2 separate regions of the Homo sapiens genome follow, and region 2 is linked to region 1. Evidence: promoter capture Hi-C in 16 types of primary human blood cells and fetal thymus (Javierre and others, 2016). All regions are on one chromosome and are shown on one strand. The core of a region is centred on a gene start or on the middle of the fragment in contact, and the rest is flanking DNA. Distances in the headings are between cores, read along the strand shown. Region 1 holds the start of NDP-AS1 (NDP antisense RNA 1). Region 2 overlaps EFHC2 (EF-hand domain containing 2).

Region 1 (3,580 bases), core at 434-2,933:
GAGACAGGGCCTTGCTCTGTCACTCATGCTGGAGTACAGTGGCTTGATCATAGCTTCCTGCAGCCTCTAATTCCTGGGTTCAAGTGATCCTCCTGCCTCAGCTGCCAAAGTAGCTGGGACTACAGGTGCACATCACCACGCCTGGTTAACTTTTTATTTTTTTTTTTAGAGACACGGTCATGCTATGTTGCCCAGGCTGGTCTCAAACTCCTGGGGTCAAGTGATCCTCCTGCCTCAGACTCCAAAGTGTTGGGATTATAGGCATGAGACAATACACCTGGCCCAGGGGATTTTTTTCTCCATCACTTAACATGAAATTCACCAAGCAAAACCTCTTACATAACCATGGGACCAATAATCTCAGATTCTCCATTCCCCTCCCCACCTTGATATTAGGATTATGCAGCTTAATGAGTCAAGCTGTCCCACCCTACCCACCTATTACTCCCACTCCCAGGATACCAGGAGTTTTGTATGGGATACATAAATGATCCTTTTTTCCATTCCGTTAAGCTGTATGCAAATTGTGTGTGTGCTTATGTACATTTTTCTGGGGATAACTTTGGTAGTTTTCATCAGATTCTTAAAGGTGTCTGTTTGCTAAAGCCAGATTAAGAGCTACTATAAAGAACACATAGCCTCCGTTATTCCAGCCCAATCTTTGGAAATAGAGATTATCAGAATGGGTACATCCTAATATTTGCCGCAAATGACTCTGAAGATGCGGATGCAATTACATAAATCCCAGGCTCCTTCAACATATAAACCCAGAAGTGTGATTTCAGGGCCCCAGACATGCCCTGTCTCTACTTCATTCTCTTGTCCCAAATTGCAGCACCCAGAATATTTCTTCCTAAGCATTACTCAGGCTATCCTATTTTCTTATTCAGAAACTATATTCCTGTTCTTTAGCTATTTCCTGCACAAATCAATTTCTTTTTTTTTTTTTTTTTTTTGGTAGTCATTTTAATTTACTTCTTGGTTTCAATTTGGATTGACTTTCTGCATTTTGCTACTGGTAGAATTGCAATGCATTGGGCCAGTGGTAGACCACTACCTGTCAGGAGAAATTTCTTTTGTTCTTTGGTTTTTACTCGCACATCACAGTGATGGGCGTCATTCAGTGGTTCTAAACCCTCAGTACACTTAGAAATCACCTAAGAAGCTTTGAAAACCATGAAAGCCTGGTCCCTATCTCCAAGGATTTTAATTCAATCGATCTGAATGAGGCCTGGGTGTTGACTTAAAAAAAATGCAACATGCATTGAGCCACTGGTCTAATCTAGCAGGAATTGGCAACGAGTGTGAGGGTCTTTCAAAAGATGCTGTTTTACCTGGCTAAGGTTGTGGCATGCCCACAGAGTAACCACCTCCTTTTCTTTCCCCAGATGGTGCTCCTGGCCAGGTGCGAGGGGCACTGCAGCCAGGCGTCACGCTCCGAGCCTTTGGTGTCGTTCAGCACTGTCCTCAAGCAACCCTTCCGTTCCTCCTGTCACTGCTGCCGGCCCCAGACTTCCAAGCTGAAGGCACTGCGGCTGCGATGCTCAGGGGGCATGCGACTCACTGCCACCTACCGGTACATCCTCTCCTGTCACTGCGAGGAATGCAATTCCTGAGGCCCGCTGCTGTGTGTGGCTTCTGGATGGGACAACTGTAGAGGCAGTTCGACCAGCCAGGGAAAGACTGGCAAGAAAAGAGTTAAGGCAAAAAAGGATGCAACAATTCTCCCGGGACTCTGCATATTCTAGTAATAAAGACTCTACATGCTTGTTGACAGAGAGAGATACTCTGGGAACTTCTTTGCAGTTCCCATCTCCTTTCTCTGGTACAATTTCTTTTGGTTCATTTTCAGATTCAGGCATTTTCCCCCTTGGCTCTCAATGCTGTTTGGGTTTCCAACAATTCAGCATTAGTGGGAAAAAGTGGGCCCTCATACACAAGCGTGTCAGGCTGTCAGTGTTTGGTGCACGCTGGGGAAGAATTTACTTTGGAAAGTAGAAAAGCCCAGCTTTTCCTGGGACATCTTCTGTTATTGTTGATGTTTTTTTTTACCTTGTCATTTTGGTCTAAGGTTGCCATTGCTGCTAAAGGTTACCGATTTCAAAGTCCAGATACCAAGCATGTGGATATGTTTAGCTACGTTTACTCACAGCCAGCGAACTGACATTAAAATAACTAACAAACAGATTCTTTTATGTGATGCTGGAACTCTTGACAGCTATAATTATTATTCAGAAATGACTTTTTGAAAGTAAAAGCAGCATAAAGAATTTGTCACAGGAAGGCTGTCTCAGATAAATTATGGTAAAATTTTGTAAGGGAGCAGACTTTTAAAGACTTGCACAAATACGGATCCTGCACTGACTCTGGAAAAGGCATATATGTACTAGTGGCATGGAGAATGCACCATACTCATGCATGCAAATTAGACAACCAAGTATGAATCTATTTGTGGGTGTGCTATAGCTTTAGCCGTGTCACGGGCATCATTCTCTAATATCCACTTGTCCATGTGAAACATGTTGCCAAAATGGTGGCCTGGCTTGTCTTCTGAACGTTTGGTTCAAATGTGTTTTGGTCCTGGAGGCTCAAATTTTGAGTTATTCCCACGTTTTGAAATAAAAAGAGTATATTCAAAATTTTGACTGTTTAAGTATTTTTTTCCTACTTGATATCCTACTATCATGTGGACTAGAACATACATGTAGCTAGTGCTTGAGCATCTCCTATGATATAGTAAAAGAGTCAAAAAAAAAAAAAAGGAGACAGAAATGGGGTTCCAGAATGCATTGTGGGAACATTTTTTTGAAATCAATGTAACAAGGTGTTGAGGGCTTATTAAATTTGACTCTGAGTTTTAGATTTTAGCCCATTGAATAAACACAAAATCTAATGCATTTTGGCTTCCTTGGAAGCTATGGAATGAAACAGAGGAGTCCCCTCCTTTTTAATTTCTTCACTTTTCTCAGAAGAAAATAAATATCCATAAGTGAAGTTGGAAGAACCAGCAGAAGGACAAATAGTTAACAACATTTCTGTGCCATTGACTGTGCAGTGCTCAGGATCGAATGATATTACTGGGCATTACAAGAATACTCATGATGTTAGCACAGTGCTATGTCCCTCTTAGGTATCTCAATACAAATCCAGACTTGGCAATTCAGTTTCCAGGGCAACCTTGTCCTGGTTAACTAGAGATGATATTAACTCCCCCACTGTTAGTACAGCCAACCTGTGAATTACTTTTCCAGTAGAGATAATGGTTTTGAACACTCTTTGGCACAGCTTTCACACATTCTTAAGAAAGCCAGCAGGGTTATACTTGTATTCATGGCTTTGAAACAGAATGAAACTAATGCTATTAAATCTTGACCTTGATCTTAATCTCTGTGGTGACACAGCCAGCCAGTCTCCTAAATTGGAGGTTCTCCTCATTCTGAAGGCAAATGCGAAATGGCAGTTTGGACCATTACATGAAGAATTTTGTCATAAATGGAATTAAATTTAATACTGAAAGTTAAATGGTTATAATTTTTAACTGATAATGAAAGTATTAACTGTTGGTCACATTTATGACTGT
Region 2 (3,580 bases), core at 454-2,953, 250 kb before region 1:
TGTTCTATTGTCCCAAATTCATGGAATGCCAATTTTTCTGTTATATCTGCTGACTTAGGGTGGATTGTTTCCTTTTGTTTTCTGAGCTCATCTTAAATTGGACTTTCTTCCTCCACTTCATTGTTCCTTTGTTGCTTGGGTTGACCATTTAGAGTAGTTTTTAAAAAATCTTTTATTTTGAACTAATTGTAGACTTACAGAAAATTTACCAAACTAGAGTTCCCATATTTCCCTCACCCAGCTTTTTCTATGTTAACATCTTACCACAGTGTAATTATTAAACCCAAACAATTAACACTGGGACAGTTCTACAGACTAAAAACTTCATTTGAATTTTACCAATTTTTCACTGTCATTTTTCTGTCCCAGGATCCTATCCAGGATCCCACATTGCATTTAGTAGTTGTTTCATGTTAGTCTTCTGTGGTCTGTAACAGTTCCTCAACCTTTCTTTGTCTTTTATGACCTTGATACTTTTTAAGAATAGTGGTCAATTATTTTGTAGAATGTTGTTCAATTTGGAGTTGTCTGATGTTTTCTCATAGTTGGACTGAGATTATACACTTTTGGAAAGAATACCACAGAAATGATGTTGTCTCCTTCTTAGAACATCATATCAAGTGGTTCATGATGTCAGTATGTCTTACTACTGGTGATGTTGGCCTTGATCACTTGATTCAGGTAATGTCTGCCAGCTTTCTCCATTGGAAAGTTACTATCTTTCCTTTTGCATTTAATAAATACCTTGAAAGAGACACTTTGAGACTATGCAAACCCTACTTTTTCTCAAACTCACCTGCTAATTTTAGCATCTGGCAATAGAACTCTTTGAGTAATTTTGATTTTACCTTTCCAGGCTAGCTTATAAACTGGTCTAATTTCATGTTAATTTTGATGTTAATTAATTGCCTTGGAACATGGATTAGTCAATTTTTTTTGTTATAAAGGAATACCTGAGGCTGGGTAATGTATAAAGAAAAAATGTTAATTTTGGATTATGGATCTTCAGACTGTACACGAAGTGTGGTGCTAGCATCTGCCTCTGGTGAGAGCTCAGGAAGCTTACAATCAGGGCAGAAAGCAAAGTGGGGAGCTGGCATATTACATGGTAAGAGGGAGCAAGAGAGAGAGTAAGGAGGTGTCAACTTCTTTTAAACAAGCAGATCTCATGTGATCTCAGAGCGAGAGCTCACTCATCACTGAGGGGATGGCGCTGAGCCATTCATGAGGGATCTGCCTCCATGATCCAAATCCCTCCCACCAGGCCCCACCTCCAACGCTGGGGATTACCTTTCAATGTGAGATTTGGAGGGGACAAACATGTGAACTGTATCAGAGCTTTATATAGTAAGTGGGCAAAATAAATTTATACTCCAAATTCTTATTAGGTGGAATATTGGCTTTGATTTCTATCAGATAACTTATTTTTTTTATACCTAGAGACTCAGCAGAGAAAAGCCTCATTGTCATCTCTCTTGTCCAATGGGTAGAATTTATTAATTCTTTCACTTCACTTGCAGCCTTTTACAGTTCTAGCTTTATGCATAGGTTTAATGTGTAGGAGTTCCCAATTGCTACTCTCCTGGACTGGAGGTCTTGTCGTTTGTGCCCTGGTGAGTGTTAAAAAATCTAAGCTCTTACCTGCTAAAGGGTTTGATCCCACTTCCTCCCCACCCCAACTACCTCTCATCCTGCTGCCACCTATTAGCTTGTTCATCTTCCTCTCTGGCTGTCAGCTACCTCTTCGCGTTGGTACCTGGGGACATTTCTCTCTGTTTTCACAAGCTCAGCCAGGAGTGTGAGTTTTAATTGCTGCCTAGTCTACCATTTTGCCATGCACAATCTCTCTCCCATGCCATAAGACTCTCTAAAATTACACTGGGGAAAATACTGACTAGACACGTTATTATTAGGGAATGTCACTTTATTATTAATACCTATGCTAAACTGGATTTGGCTGTGATCGTATAGGCCTAGTTAAAATCAGTTCCACTATTTAAAAATCTTAATCACGCTTAGGCTTCTCTCTTTCTATTTTTGAAGCACATCCATTCTTATAACCTTGAATTTTATGGGACGCTAGAAAAAATTATTGGCATTTTAGAATAAATAAATCATATAATGTTGTGCCAAAACAGATAGAGTGTTTCTTATGTTTCTAAAGAGTGGAAAAAGGACCAACTCTTTTTCTGGGGTTTTATATATACATATATATTTATATTGTGTTTATTTTATTTCTTTTTCCATGATTATATTCTTGTGGAAATGAGGAAATCATTAACAGTGAAACTACTGTTTCATCCAAAATACAGTGTTCTAATGGTCTGTTTTCTAAATGAAGCTTCTATGAATAAAAGCAAGGCCGCTATATAGCCATTTAGTTGCTAACAAATGACCTGGTTAGTGCCACCCATGATTTCTTCTTTAATTAGATTGCAAATTTTGTGTTTAAAAATGGGAGCAGTAAGTAAATGCTAATTTGTAGTTCCTCAGAGGGAGAATTGTGATGTAAAAATTAGGATATAAAATGAGAGGATACCGCAGGGCAGGAGGGTAATGGCACTTGGGCCACCATAGGGCAGGCCCTGCCAGGCTGCTTTTCATTCAAGTAAATTTTGCAACTCAAAGTACTGGGTATGGAAGGCGTGCCACATAGTACAGTGTTTAATCATGTAAGTTTATTCTTTCTTCATTCAATAAACATATATTGTGCATGTGCTCTGTATTGGGTCCCATGGTGGATGACAGAGGCTCAGAGGTGAATGAGCTGCCTTTTGGGAGTGCCAGCCTCATCTGTGGCCTTGGACTGCTGGTTCTGTGCTGCCAATCTGGGTCACTCTCTTCCCACACCATTTTGGAGGGGTCTCTCCTTTGCTGTCCAGTTTCTTCTGCCTGCTCCTGAAGACATGAACTAAATTATATTTCTTCTCTTAAGATGTTCCTTACCACTGCAGCTCAGAGTAATCCTTGCCTCTTTGAACTCATTTTATTTATGGCTGGTGCTACCCAGCATATCTTTTTATTCCCACATGCATGTTAGTTGGAGAATAGATGGATGAATGAATGAATGAATGAATGAATGAACGAACAAAGGTGGTGCCTTTTGTTTGGATTCAATTTTCACTCACTTAATAGGATCATATTGACAGGGCATTCCTAGACTTATTTTGACCTTTCTTGAAGGATGATTCATTCTACCACTTACTAATAATTATCATAAAAGCTAACATTTATATGCTTGCTGCTTACCATGTGACAAATGTTGCACTAAATGCTTTCTACATATTAACTCATTTACTCCTCACAGCAATCCTACAAAGTGGGCACTATTATTATTCCCATTTTGCAGATGAGGAAACTAAGAAGCAGAGAGGTTAAGGAATGTACCCAGAATTACATATTAAGTTGCAGAGCTGGGATTTGCATCAGGCAGTCTAGCAATTTCATCATGAGTTATGATTTAGAATCAAACTAGCTAAGGTTGACAATTCATTCTGCCTCTCTAATGCTTCAGGTTCATCATCTGTGAAATGAGAATCATTCAATGGCTTACTGGGGGCGTTAGATGAATTAACATATG

The links. Contacts are between HindIII fragments. The CHiCAGO score rates a contact against its expected background, and 5 or more counts as called.
Region 2: a contact is called between a fragment that was not itself captured here and the fragment with the promoter of NDP-AS1 in region 1, in 1 of 17 cell types (monocytes). The highest score is 5.3, in monocytes.

Annotation. Positions count from the first base shown.
Region 1 is chrX:43,947,835-43,951,414 of GRCh38, reverse strand. It overlaps NDP-AS1 (NDP antisense RNA 1), which reads right to left and starts at 1,683. Exons shown (of 6, transcript NR_046631.1): 1 at 1,335-1,683. NDP (norrin cystine knot growth factor NDP) reads left to right here. Exons shown (of 3, transcript NM_000266.4): 3 at 1,389-2,639. The coding sequence ends at 1,616. RefSeq lists enhancers at 972-1,488, 1,489-2,006. The HindIII fragment of the contact is 3,781 bases long and covers 1,168-3,580 here.
Region 2 is chrX:44,196,794-44,200,373 of GRCh38, reverse strand. The region is part of intron 11 of EFHC2 (EF-hand domain containing 2); the gene reads left to right. Among named protein-coding and RNA genes, the nearest start is that of EFHC2, 150 kb to the left of the region's middle. The HindIII fragment of the contact is 1,280 bases long and covers 1,064-2,343 here.